Regions from separate parts of the Homo sapiens genome. Here all the other regions are linked to region 4. Evidence: promoter capture Hi-C in 16 types of primary human blood cells and fetal thymus (Javierre and others, 2016). All regions are on one chromosome and are shown on one strand. Each heading gives the region's core, a stretch centred on a gene start or on the middle of the fragment in contact. The rest is flanking DNA. Distances are from core to core; before and after follow the strand shown. Region 1 overlaps CCDC90B-AS1 (CCDC90B antisense RNA 1). Region 2 holds the start of PRCP (prolylcarboxypeptidase). Region 3 overlaps CCDC90B (coiled-coil domain containing 90B). Region 4 holds the start of HIKESHI (heat shock protein nuclear import factor hikeshi).

Region 1 (3,438 bases), core at 686-3,185, 3.0 Mb after region 4:
CACAGCAAAAGCTGGCTAGTAATTTCTCATAAAAGGTCAACAACATAGCTGACAGCAGCAGCCTAGAAAGTTCTTGAGGAAGACTGCTTGGTGTAGCAGAAAGATGTTCTTTGGGGTCAGACATCCAAAGCTTCAAATCCCACCACTAGAAGCTACATGGCACTGAACAAGCTCTCTAACCATTTTAGACTTCAGCTTCTTTATCTGTAAAAGGGGTATAATAATTACCATTAGGCAATGTTGTTCTGGGGACTAAAACTCATGTCCAAAGAGTGCTTAGCACTCTCCTTGGCACATAGGATGGATGTGATAAGAAAGAACTACTATTTCTTTAAATGCCTATTTTAGGGTTTCCCTCAGGGAAACTGTAACTGTAATGGGTAACCCTGGTTTAAAAGTTTCCCAAATAAAGCCAGATGTCAAAATTATATAGCTCAGAAAAGGCTGGCTTTCTTCATGATCAACATGTACATCTACATCCAGTAAGATCAAACAAACAGAAGTGGGCCTTTTAAATGTAAAATTACCACATGACCCTGCAATTTCACGCCTACATAGATACTAGAAGAACTGAAAAAATATATTCAGACAAGTACATGTATGCACATGCTCATAGCAGCATTATTCATAATAGCCATAAAGTAAAAAGACCCCAAATGTCTATCAGCGAATGGATGGATAAACAAATCATGGTACTGATTGTGTGCAATAGAATACTGGCCATGAAAAGGAATGAAGTACTGATGCATGCTGCAACACAATGAACTTCCAAGATATTTTGCTAAATGAAAAAAGCCATATACAAAAGGTCACATGTATGATTCAATTTACGTGATACATCCAGAATAGATGAATCCATAGAGACAGAACACAGATCGGTGTTAGTCAGGGGCTGAGAGGAGTGGGGAAGGGGAAAAACCTGCTAAATAGGTCAGGAATTTTACTTTGGAGTGATGGAAATATTTTGGAACTAGATAGAGGTGGTAGTTGCACAACATTGTAAGTGTACTAAATGCTACTGAGTTGTTCACGTTTAAATGGTTAATTTTATGTGACGTGAATTTCTCAACAAATTTTTTTAAAGAAATGACCTAAATTACACAAAGAGCTAACAATAAAAGAAAGACCTTCTTGATGATAAGAGCTGAAAACAGGGTAAGGCTGGCAGGAGTAAAATCAATGAAGGGCCCCCAAATTCTCCCCACAGTAGTATAGATCAGTTCTTAAGAGATAGCTTTGTGGAGTCAAGGGCTCTTCCCCAGAGCCTAAGGTAGTAGCAGGAAAAGGCCTGAGGTAGGAGTCAGGAGCTGTGACTATGTCACTAAATAATCAGCGCCTCTCCCCTGAGCCTCAAGCTCCCTCAGTTGCAAACCCAGAAAACTACCTCCCGAGGCTGTTGTGAGGCTCAAAGCAAACAGTGAATATGAAGGTTTTCATTACCCATTATAAAAATGCAAAGTTTTCCATGTGCTTCAGGGTTGAAATTCCAGCTTGTTGTATGTCCCTGAACAAGCTACTTAACCCCTCTAAGTCTTGTTTTTGTCTCTACCTACCTTACATGATTGTTGGAGAATTAGAAATAATATACGCAAAGTGCCTGGTACCCACTAAACCCTCAGTAAGTTGAAGCTATTGTTAAATGGGTGGGAACAATTTCAGCAAGGAAGGGAAGGAATAAGAGAAAATGAGCAAAATGGGTGTTGGGATGAAGGTGGGAGTCAGTGGAAATGTCATGGCCAGTGCAGGATTATGGCAGCCTAAGGGGAATATATAATCTAGAAATGGCATATGTGCTGCCCCCTTTCTCTCCTGCATTCATATCAGATACTACCAATCAATCATGTATTCTTTACTGCTGCACCAAGATATGGCCTCACAACACTCATCACTTTGTTCTAAGCAGCCACGGTCAATTGAAGGGTATTGGCATGAAGATGAAACCCATTTGTCACTTCTGTACTAACAGTTTCTTGGAGGATGAGGGATGATGTGTCCCTAAGAGTACACATAATTTCACAATTTGTGCCATGTACCCAGTTAAAATAAATTGGTGGAAGGAACAGGGGTGACTTATCTATGCAGTGTGCAGCACAATCGATTATGAGTTCTACCACGTACTTGCTCTGTGACCTGGGACAAGTCACTTCAGCCTTCTGAACCTGTTTTCCCATCTATGAAACAGGAGCAATGGTACCCAGCTCACGGAGTTGCCAAAGAGCTCAAATGAGCTCATGTGTGTGAGATAAGAGATGAGGCAACACCTACATGTGAAGAATTTTTGAGGAAGAATGCCCCACCTTGTTGTTGGAGACAGGAAGGATACAGACCATGCTGAGAGTTTAGTGAGATTTTTCAGCTCTGCTATACCCCAGTGCGGAAAATGAATTCCAAAGTCAAGACCCCAAAATCCTATTTCCCTAGTCTTTCCCAGTGAGGTCCAAGGCAGCCAAGTCATACAATGAGGAGGACTTCTCCAATCAGGTACCTTGAGGCTGGAGCTGTAGGCTCTGCCAGGCCAGGGGTCTTCTCTGACCAGGAAAGGGGCAGATGTCTAGGGTTTTCCAGATCAGTACCTAGGACAGGGAATCTAGGTGAAATACACAGCCTTGACCGCTGAAGGACTCAGCAAAGGGCAGGCAAACACCCTTTTGGTTTTTTTCCTTTTCTTTTCATTTTTTCGTTTTCGTTTTTGAGACAGGGTCTCTGTTGCCCAGGCTGGAGTGCAGTGGTGCAATCAGGGCTCACTGTAGCCTTGACCTCCTGGGCTCAAGAGATCTTCCCACCTCAGCCCCCTGTGTAACTGGGACTACAGGCATGTGTCCCATTGCCCGGCTAATTTTTTTTAATTTTTATAGAGACAGGAGCTCGCTATGTTGCCCAGGCTGGTCTCAAATTCCTGGGCTCCACTGATCCTCTCACCTTGGCCTCCCAAACTGCTGAGATGACAGGGTGAACCACCATGCCTGGCCACCTTTCTTTTCAAAGCTACTCCCTAGCCTAATGCCCTTCAGTGATTCCTCTTACTCATGGATAAAGTAAAAAAGACCTTGAAGGCCAGCCTCACCTTTTCCAACCTCACCTTCTGAATTTCCCTACCCTTAACCCATTGCTCCAGCCATTCTCTCCATTCCCAAATGAACCAGGCTCTCTCACACACACTTCCCGGCTTTTGCAAGTGCTGTTGCCTTTTCCACACAACGTACTCCACACCACCATTCACCAAATCCATTTAACCAAACTGTCTTTCACACATCCTTTCAAACTAATGCCTTCCGACGGATCCCTGCTTAGGGTAATATAAGCCTCTCTTATGCATTCCCTTGGCAGCCTATACTACCCTTCATCATAATATTTATTACAATAGACTGTTGACAATCTGAGAGCAGGACTGTGTTTTATGTTTATATCTTCATGGCTTAGCACAGTGCCTGGCACCAT
Region 2 (3,516 bases), core at 1-2,500, 3.4 Mb after region 4:
CCAATCAGAAGAAGGCGCCGCAGAGGGTGGAGCTTAGCGAGGAAATCCTACAAGCATCTGGAAACGACCATTTTCGTCAAACTGCGGGTAGAGTCTTTCTCCCCGACAGGTGGATCAGTAGTACAGTCCGTAAAATTGGTTTTGGAGCTTCGCTGAGCCTCCTGGGCGTAGGGTTCCCGGGAAAGTGTGGAGTGAGCCGCAGCGCCCTGGGGTCTGGCGGGGTGACTGAAAGAGGGAATGGAAGCTGGATGAAGAGGGTTGAGGGAGCTTTGGAAGCCAGACCCGGCGCTGTCCTAGGGGCTAGCACTACCCACGGGCGGAGGGAGGAAGGGGGCGGTGGCAGGAGGCAGGAGGGGGGTGGAGCGCGGAGTGGGTTTTCGGGTGCCGGAGAAGAAAGGGGGCGTTATTTGAAAGAAGGGACCGGGACCTGGCGGGATTTAGGGGCGATGTGGACCCGGGGCGACCTGTGTAATGGATGGGTTGTGCGAGCAACACAGTTTTGGGGTGACCCAAGAACGGAGTATCATAGGGAGTGGTTAGGCTCCAGATGGAGGTGGGTGCAAGGAGCACAGTCTTTGGACCTGGACCCAGCGGTCTGCGACGACGTGCTCCGCTCACTGCTGAGTGATCTAGTGCAAGTTCCCGCACCTCTCTGAGCCTCAGTTTCCACATCTGTAGATGGGAATAACAATCATATACGACGCACAAGATTGCTGTGACGATTTAGTTAGAGGAGATGATGCGTGTGCCTCCCTGCCTCGTGATACACTGGCCTGTAGTGAACCTTCAATAAATTGTCATGGTAGCTGTTATTGCCGTTACGTAGGATTTGCGGAAGGCAGGAGGTGTCGCAATGGAATTGCGGTGGCCAGGGCAGGGTTTGGTGGTGATGATAATGGTAGGGATATTGGGTGACCTGAAGGACAGGTGGGCTTCGGGGGCGCTATAGATAAAGCATGGGCTACAGCGATGAGTTAGGAAGAGGCCCTAGCATGATAAGGGCAGACTTGGGGTGTGACCGCAATGAAGGTGAGTGCTAAGGAGCAGATGGCACGAGAGGAAAGTGGAGTGGAGGCGGTGTCCTCGGGGATGGGGGCGGAGTGGCTGTGGTGACCTGGCTTGGGCGGCGTCTCTGAGGAGCTGGCTGGCTTTGGGTTTCCCCTGGGAGGAGCTGTTTTGCGGCGGGCGGAGCTGCAGGCTGGGCAGGGCTTAGCCTGTGCGCTTCTGCTGGCCTCCTTTTCGCCCTCCCACCCGCACTGCAGTCTCCAGCCTGAGCCATGGGCCGCCGAGCCCTCCTGCTCCTGCTTCTGTCTTTTCTGGCGCCCTGGGCCACCATAGCCCTCCGGCCGGCCTTAAGGGCCCTCGGCAGCCTACACTTGCCAACCAACCCCACATCCCTCCCGGCTGTAGCCAAGAACTATTCGGTTCTCTACTTCCAACAGAAGGTAAGGGGGAGCGGGGGCTTCGCCGTCCCAGGCCCAACCGCCGGGAACCCTGACCCTCAGAGCCCGGGCAACGGAGCCTACCTCGAAATTCACACCCCTTGATGCCTAGGATCTGTTCGGTTTTTGGCTAACATCTTCCAGAAGGTGGTCCCAAATCCCAGTTCTGTTTAAATTTTCTCCTCCCATTACCAATAATTTGGTAGTAGTTTTGGCTGCATACTCTTGATTCAGGCTTTTCTGTAATTGGACACGACAGTCACTTCAACTCCCTCTGCTCCCAGAGGGTGCCCCAATCCGAACTCCCTTGACCTTCCCTCAAATTCAAATTATTAAATGCCAGCTCTGGTACCTAGTCTGCGGTGATAGTCATCCTTTGCCCCAAGGCAGCCCTAAATACAAATTTTAATATCTTTACCTATTAGAAAATATTGGATAGTTATCCATCCTAAAAGCCAGCCTCTCAGAAGGGGTCAGCTCAGAGCTGATTTTGTAGCCCTATTATTAAGAATTGTTGACAGTCCCTATTCCCCATAAGACTGAATGTATGTAGCCTATGCTTGTAAAAGGAGTTGTAGGAGTTTGTGGTGGGGGTGGGGATTAGCCTTTCTATGGTCTGTAACGTGAAATTAGAGGTTTTTGGGCTTGATGCCTTTGTGCTTGGCTGCAGCATGAGGCATTCCCCCACAGGTCTTGATGGAAAAGTACATCCTCTGTGAAATGACAAGTAATCCTTACAGTTCAGCATTTCTGAAAGCCTGTGTAAAAATAGGAAAAGATTTGGAAAAGGTTGGGATTAGAAAGAGTGCAAGGGTCTGAAGCTTGGCTTTAGGAGTCAGATAGAACCGGATTCCACCCTGCTAGCTCTGTGACCTTGGGCAGGTTACAGTACTTCTGTGAGCCTAGTTCCTTGATCTCTTGGGGTTTGTGGTGATGGTTGAATGAGAGCAGATAACGTACTCTTAGCAGAGTATCTGGCTTCAAGTAGGCACTCATATAATATGTGGTTATAGACCTATGTGAAATTTTGTTGTTGTTAATTGTGCAGAGACAAGGCTCACTATGTTGCCCAGGCTAGTCTTGAACTTGTGGGCTCAATAATCCTTCTGCATCAGCCTCCCAAAGTGTTGGGATTACAGGTGTGAGCCACTGAGCCCAGCCCTTATGTGAATTTGGAATGGGAATTTGTGGTAGAGGGATGTCATAGACTTCCAGAATAACTTAGAAATAATTTAAAAATTTTTTTATTTTTAAAAATAGAGATGGGATTTTGTCATCTTGCCTAGGCTGGTCTTGAACTCCTGGGCTCAAGCGATGCCCCTGTCTTGGCCTCCCAAAGGGCTGGGATTGCAGGCGTGTGCCACTGTGTCCCCAGCCAAGAAACAATTTTTAACCCAGACATTTGAGTTCAAGTTTATGAGGAAGAGAAAACATTTTAATTTTAGCAGGGGTACTAGGAAATAATCTTTTTTCTCAGGCAACTCCCTTAAATTAATTCTCTAGGGCATAATTCCCTCATTTGTAAATTAGGAGGGTTGGGACAAGGACCAATGTGTTTTACACTTTACTGAGGAAAATTAAGGGCTCTTTGGGGAGCTGTTTCAGAGGGAAAGTGGATGAAGGCTGAAGTGGAGGCCAAATTAGGTGCTCTAGTACCCTCTCTTGGATCTCTTTCAGCTTTTACCTGTTTTATATGCTGGGATTTTATATACAACTATTTGCAGAACTCAACTGCTAAAGTAAAACGGTGGGGAGGACTATTGGATTGGGAGATCTCTAAAATCCCATTGGGATTGATGAAAAAGAGAACTATCAGCAGAAAAGAGGAAGGGAACAAATGAGTTGTTAGTACCTTAGTTCCTAATTTATGTTCCTTTATTGTAGATTCTTTTCTTGGCCACTACACTCCTTAGAAATATAATTCAACACTGTTTCTTTTTCCATTTTTGATGATATGCAAAGTCCAGCTTTACTCAGCCACATTTTGTCCACTGGCTTATATTTAATTTATATTTTAGGATACAGATTCCACGTATGTATTTATTACCATAATAATAATTTTTCTTCTGTCTAT
Region 3 (3,248 bases), core at 110-2,609, 3.0 Mb after region 4:
ATATTTTATAGTCACTAAAAATGATACTGTTTGAGAAATATTTACTGATATGGGGAATGTTCAAGATATGTTAATTGAAAAAAGCATATGAAATAATATGTGCAGAATTATTCCAATTAAGTGAAAAAAAACTAGAGTTTCTAGGTTAAACTAAAGTCCGTGTGGAAGTACAAATGTTTGAGATTAAAAAATAAAAAAAAAGCACAAAAAATTACCTGATATCAAAACAGTAATTTAAATTATGTGATATTAAAGGAATAGACTAATAGAACAAAATGGTATTAAGAGACACAGACATGAATTTAATATGTGATGAAGGCATTACAAATTAGGGAAAGGAAGGACTATTTAATAAATGAGACATAATAAGTGACTAGCCACTGGGAAAAAATATATTAGATCCCCTTATTGAAAACTAAATTTCAGATAGATGAAAAGCTAAATGTAAAAGAAGAACAAGCAGTTTTACAGAAAAAGGTGGGCAAATGCTATAAACAAGCAGAACACAGAAAAATAAATATAAATAACAAAAAGTATATGTAATGCTTAACCTCTCTACAAACCAAGGAAATGCAAATTTAAGTAACATTAAAATAACAATGCAATACAATTTTTTATGCCAATTACACACTCAAAAAAAAAGTCATATCCAGTGTTAATGTAGATGTGGGGAGATACAGAATGAGAATTAAAATTTTAGAGTTTGTTTTTTTGTTTGTTTTTTTTTTGTTTTTTTTGAGACAGAGTCTCGCTCTGTTGCCCAGGCTGGAGTAAAGTGGCGCGATCTCGGCTTACTGCAAGCTCTGCCTCCCAGGTTCACACCATTCTCCTGCCTCAGCCTCCCGAGTAGCTGGGACTACGGGCGCCCGCCACCACGCCTGGCTATTTTTGTATATTTAGTACAGATGGGGTTTCACCGTGTTAGCCAGCATGGTCTCAATCTCCTGACCTTGTGATCTGCCCACCTCGGCCTCCCAAAGTGCTGGGATTACAGGCGTGAGCCACCATGCCCGGCCTAAAGTTGTAGAGTTCTTTTAGAGAGTAATTTAGTATTATCTGTCAATTTTTTAATTGTAACCATTATTTAAAAGAGTATAACAATTTAAATGTTGAGGAGTTACTCTTGCTGTCTATTTTGATAAGGATATACACTTTAAAAAAAATAAAATACCTATTTGCTGCCTACAGGATTTGACAAAACACAAGCAGAAACAATTGTATCAGCGTTAACTGCTTTATCAAATGTCAGCCTGGATACTATCTATAAAGAGATGGTCACTCAAGCTCAACAGGTAATACACTGATTACTATCACTTCTGATACTTTCATTAGACAATCATTTCATAACTATGTCTCTGTCTACCTACTGACCTTCCAAACATGCTTATATCTTCCTTGTTCTCTCTAAAGGGACCACAAAAAAAAACATTGAATAAAGTCAGTATTTAGAGAGACTGAATAGTTAGAATAGTTGTAATAATATTGTGGTAACAGAGAATGGTATTTTGCCAAATCTTTGATGGGATGAGATCATTATATTGTGTTATTCATGAGTGGTGGTAGATTGTTTGTGAAACAACTTTTTCCCTCTAGAAAGCTCACCACAGAAGAGCTAATCTTTCTATATATTCAGTATATTTTATTGCTGCTATACATACACATTGGTTAATTTTCACAGACATAGCTGGAAAGGACTTAGTTGGCTGGGAGGGACTTTATAAATTCCCTGGCTAAGACGCCTTAATTTAACTGAATATAAAAATCCTTAAAGTCAAACATAAGAATTTAACATGTAAGTGGCACAATGCTATGTACTTTTCGTATATTATTTAATCTCTAATAACCTTGAAAAGTAAGCAGAATTCTATTTGGCCACTGAAGACAGGCTCAGAGAAATTGAGTAGTTTGCAAGAGTTTTCACTGTGGTGGTATGGACAAAAAGCAATAATTTTATATAAAGGACTGAATAAACTAAATGAACTTAACTGGAATAATAATTCATTTCTGTCAGTCATGAAATAATGTATTATGTTTAGGAATCTGTTTTCTTCCTATGGTTATATTTTTTTCATTTTAATTTTTCAAATTTAGGCTTCCTTCCTCAGATAAGTATTTTACAGCACAGAGAAAAATCAGGATTTCTTATATAAAATTAGAATATTTTGCATAAAATTTCATTAAAGGGTCATGGTAGATCAAAAGATCTTACAGATTTCTACTATGGCCAGGTGCCGTGGGTCACACCTGTAATCCCATTACTTTGGGAGGCTGAGGTACACAGATCACTTGAGGTCAGGAGTTCAAGACTAGCCTGGCCAATAAGGTGAAACACTGTCTCTACTTGAAAAAACAAAAAAAAAAACAAAAATTAGCCGGGCATGGTGGTGGGCACCTGTAATCCCAGCTCCTCGGGAGGCTGAGGCAGGAGAATCGCTTGAACTGGGGAGGTGGAGGTTGCAATGAGCCAACATTGCACCACTGCGCTCCAGCCTGGGTGACAGAGACTCCATCTCAAAAAAAGAAAAAAACAAAAATTAAAACTGTAATCTCCAATTATAGTAGACAAATGTCCAATTAATTAGACATTTAAAATTGAAACATTCAATCCCTACATTTAACTTACCTTTAAGTTTGTACATGCATTTTTAGGATCATAACAGACTACTAAATCCACTAAAGAAAAAGCCAAACATCTAATTAGTTACTCCTAAGCTCCGAGCTGTCCTGAAAGAGCTATATGGAGCTACTGATACTTTTAATAAAGTAATTTTGTCTTAAATTTTTAAGTTTACCTATAATATAGGGAGTGAAATAAAGCTGTGATTTGAGGAATATTTGTGCTGCCAGGACCATTTAATCCTATATACAAGAGGTAGGATTGAGTATAGAAATATCACTATTAAACTTTTGGCTTTTTTATTACTGCTGTCTGAAGTTAAATAATCCTGTTCTGTTCTTGAACCTAATTCAATTGCTGACCCCACCTCTAGTATAGAATAAGGCACAGAGATGTCATGAAGGGTGAAGCTAAGGCTCAGGGTCATAGGCCATTAAGCTGCATACTTGATCACTTCAGAAAGGGCCATATGAAAACAAGTCAGCTAGCAGGATGAGGGGGAAAAAATAAAATAATAAAGTCTTATTCTGAAAATTTGATTATATTGTGATTTTGATTAAAATCTGAATATTCTCTGATGGCTCCATAGTAGTTTAAAAAAATCACACTTTTAATAGATTTAGCTACTTAA
Region 4 (3,352 bases), core at 464-2,963:
TTGAAATAACCACCAGGCAAAATAAATATTTCTTAAGTGTCAACTTTGTATAGGTACTGAACAGTCTGCAAATCTGTATCATCACACTCTAATTTTTGACATTAAGAAAAGGTGTATCTCTTTAAGAAAAAAAATCTTAAGAAATAAAAACTGGGTTCATAAGTTTAGATAAGTAGATTTTTCTTATAACAGAGTCGTGTAGTTAAGTTTTGAGATGCCACTAGGTCTATTTGTCCTTCACTTTGATGTGTCCTAATACTCCATAATTAAAGGACCAAGTATCCCCAATATATAGAGGCAGGTATTACCATAACTAAATTTCCTTCCAAATTAGTTGACAACGTGAGAGATACATGGATTCCAAATAGGCTTTTTATTCTTTAAGAAACACAATTTTAATGTCATTCATTAATAACACTCACTCGTCTGAGTCACACAATCATTCCAGGTTTGTCCTTTTTCCCTATTAAGAGCAGGGCAAAATTATCTCACCAGGATTATGAATTACCACCATCACCACAGGGGTCTCCCAGTCATTCAAGAGACAAACTTTATGAGGCTAGTCATCTCCAACTTATCTTTCTGGCTTCTTAGAACTGTATATGTACAGAATACAATACATTATCAAAACTTGATGGGAAAAAAAGACAATTCAGCAAAGGGACTGCAACATTTTAAAAAGCCAGGAGAAAAAAGAAGGAAAAATACTTCTAGGGGAAAGGAATCAGGCCTGAAAATTGATGTCTGTGTGGTTTCTAAGGAAACAAACAAGATTCACCTTCCAGATTATTCCTAAAGAATTCCAGGTGCTGTTCTCATTTACTCTAACAATTTGGCAAGGTAAGTTATCTATTTTGACCCATAAGGAAACACACTACTCGCATCCTTCTCTGGTTATCTCAGATACGGCTCACACGTTAAGTTTCAGCCAACTTCCAATTAAATTAAGCTTATTTTTACTCGGGTTCTTCCAAAGGGACCCAAAAGATATACATTCCCTGAGCACCTTAATCTTTGAAAAACAGTTTGCTATAGACCAAATTCAATCCCAAATTCACCTCTACCTCAAGTTAATAAAGAAGGTATTTATACTGGCGATTGAACTTAGTTCTGTAACTGCAAAATGTCAAAGATAAAGACCATCTCACGAGTTATGAGGATTAAGTTCAAAGTGCCAAATAAGCGCCACACATAAGGCTGAGTGACCAAAGGCGTGCATTGCACTTAGCCCAGTACTTGGTACAAAATGCACACTTAATAAATGCCAACTTATACTGTGACTACTATTCGAAAGAATCTGAATAGAGCTGGGCAAAGGAGAGCACCCAGCTTCCCACGCTCCATCCTCACATACCCACCCAAAATATAATAAGTGGGCTTCCCCGCATCCCTAGCGCCTGCGCACCCTCCCTGCCGTAGGGCTTCGCCCTCGGTATCCTGACCCCTTCCTGATATCACCCGGTCCCATCCTCACCAGCCTCCCCGCCACCAAGCAGCCAAACATGGCGACGGCAGCTCCGTTCAGCCGGCAGTGACCTGAAGCCGGCGACTAGGAGTCCTGGGGCTACTGCCCTAGTCGAGACTAAGAACCTTCCAGAATTTGCGGGAGGGTGTCTGCCCCTCCACTACATAGTGACTGGGCCAGCGGCAAGAATGCCTCTGCCCCCGCGAACTCTGACCTTCTCTTCCTAAGCAGCCCACTGCTCAGGCAACAAGTACTTCCGGGGCTTACACCCGGTTTTCCCCACTAAGGAAGAAAGGCGGGCCAGCGCCAGTACAAGACTACAAGTCCCAGAACAAGTCCCAGAGGGCACCGCGCCAGTTTCCGGGAAGGTAAGCCTGGAGGCTTTGCACACTGGGATCGGTAGTCCGGGTGTTTTATAGCCACAAAATCTGTGGATCCTTCATTTCCATGTACAATCCTGGGAAGAGATGCTTCTAACGTTTCTGTGACATCTGAGAGATTAACGGTGCACTTTTACAATAATCACGTCACTAGATCTTTACAAAAACCCTATGAGGTAAGTATTATAATCCAAATTTTATAGGAGTGATCAGCCTCAAATCTTTACACAGCAGTAAATGTTGGAGGCTGAATTCAAGTCCTAATCCAAATCCGGGTTTCTTTCTGCTACACAGTGTCTCAGAAGTATTAATCTTTAACCAATTGTTTTGTACTTGTCTACAATTTATAGTAGTTCTTTCCAGCTTCACTTAGTTCTCCCATTCATTTGCTGTACAATTGTGGACGAGTTGTAGATGTCTTTGTGCTTCAGTGCCCCTCCTTTGCAAAAGACAAATAATGAGCCTATTGCCTAGGGTTGCTGTGAGGATTAAATGAGCTAATATGTATAAAACACTTAAAACAGTGCTTGGCTGTGCTTAATTAGTGGGAGTTTTATTGTAAAAATGTCTATTTTTTTTCTATGTGGATCTGCAGAAAAGTTTCATAGGAAATACAAAACAATAGCCAAAAAAAAAAAAAAAAATACTGGCATTAAGTACCGATTGCCACCAATACTTATTCTCCCTTTCACAGCTCCAATTCCTTTTCTTCTTGAATAGGATAGTAAAGGGTCTCTGTCCAATTTGAAATATCTGAGCTTGGCCACCAGCCGTAAAGCAGGTCTGTCTTCCCAGTTCTCAGTTTATATATGGGGGATCAGTGTTTGGAACAGTCCTCTGGCCTCCACTGTGGATCCCTAAACTGATCACCTATCTTATCACCGATACTCCTTTGAGATAGCTGTGCCAAAGGTGAAGAGGTAGGAAAGGATCTACCAATGTTTCCAACTTACTATCTAAAAAGTCCTAGAACCTTCAGAATAAAAAGGCCATTCATATGAAGACCACTTCATAAATTAAGGCACCCACACTACCTGGGTTCAGAGCCCATCTCTGCCATTTATTAGTTACATAATCTCAGGCAAGTTAACCTAACACTCCCATACCTCCTTTTCCCCATCTTTAAAATGAAGTAATAGTAGTATCTACCTCATAAAGTTGTTTTGAGGGTTCTTACACGTAAAGTACTCAATAGTGGCCAGAATGTAGCTTACTCAATAAATGTTAATATTTAGCATTATTGCCTTTCCTAACTAATTTTCCATGTCTTCTTCATACCCACCTTGTGCACTAGCCATACTTTTGAATTCTCTGAGCAACTCCTACTTTTAAATTTGTATGTGCTTATGCAACTTGTTTTATCTCCCTGTAATATTCACTTGGTTATTTCTTACACATCCTCTCACTTTTCTTCACTAACCTTTCTATGACCCACCTGATAGTCATTTCTTCTCCTACCCAGCAATCTTATATTTAGTGGATTGAGAACTAGCTAGCTTAGAATTTT

Evidence for each region. The method cuts DNA at HindIII sites, captures the fragments that hold promoters and counts their contacts. A CHiCAGO score of 5 or more calls a contact.
Region 1: a contact is called between a fragment that was not itself captured here and the fragment with the promoter of HIKESHI in region 4, in 1 of 17 cell types (non-activated CD4 T cells). The highest score is 6.0, in non-activated CD4 T cells.
Region 2: the fragment with the promoter of PRCP here is called in contact with the fragment with the promoter of HIKESHI in region 4 in 2 of 17 cell types (non-activated CD4 T cells and naive CD8 T cells); the score reaches 5.6 in non-activated CD4 T cells.
Region 3: a fragment that was not itself captured here is called in contact with the fragment with the promoter of HIKESHI in region 4 in 1 of 17 cell types (non-activated CD4 T cells); the score reaches 8.1 in non-activated CD4 T cells.

What each region holds. Positions count from the first base shown.
Region 1 is chr11:83,293,530-83,296,967 of GRCh38, reverse strand. The region is part of intron 1 of CCDC90B-AS1 (CCDC90B antisense RNA 1); the gene reads right to left. Among named protein-coding and RNA genes, the nearest start is that of CCDC90B, 8.9 kb to the right of the region's middle. The HindIII fragment of the contact is 3,605 bases long and covers 133-3,438 here.
Region 2 is chr11:82,898,164-82,901,679 of GRCh38, reverse strand. It overlaps PRCP (prolylcarboxypeptidase), which reads left to right and starts at 1,250. Exons shown (of 9, transcript NM_005040.4): 1 at 1,250-1,445. The coding sequence starts at 1,278. It overlaps LOC124902602, which reads left to right. Exons shown (of 2, transcript XM_047427953.1): 2 at 1-766. The coding sequence ends at 656. RefSeq lists silencers at 315-404, 455-504 and enhancers at 715-764, 1,045-1,144, 1,295-1,354, 1,475-1,524. The HindIII fragment of the contact is 4,585 bases long and covers 1-2,265 here.
Region 3 is chr11:83,276,770-83,280,017 of GRCh38, reverse strand. CCDC90B (coiled-coil domain containing 90B) reads left to right here. Exons shown (of 9, transcript NM_021825.5): 3 at 1,189-1,292. Among named protein-coding and RNA genes, the nearest start is that of CCDC90B-AS1, 7.7 kb to the left of the region's middle. The HindIII fragment of the contact is 6,725 bases long and covers 1-3,248 here.
Region 4 is chr11:86,300,601-86,303,952 of GRCh38, reverse strand. It overlaps HIKESHI (heat shock protein nuclear import factor hikeshi), which reads right to left and starts at 1,713. Exons shown (of 5, transcript NM_016401.4): 1 at 1,475-1,713. The coding sequence starts at 1,504. The HindIII fragment of the contact is 4,753 bases long and covers 952-3,352 here.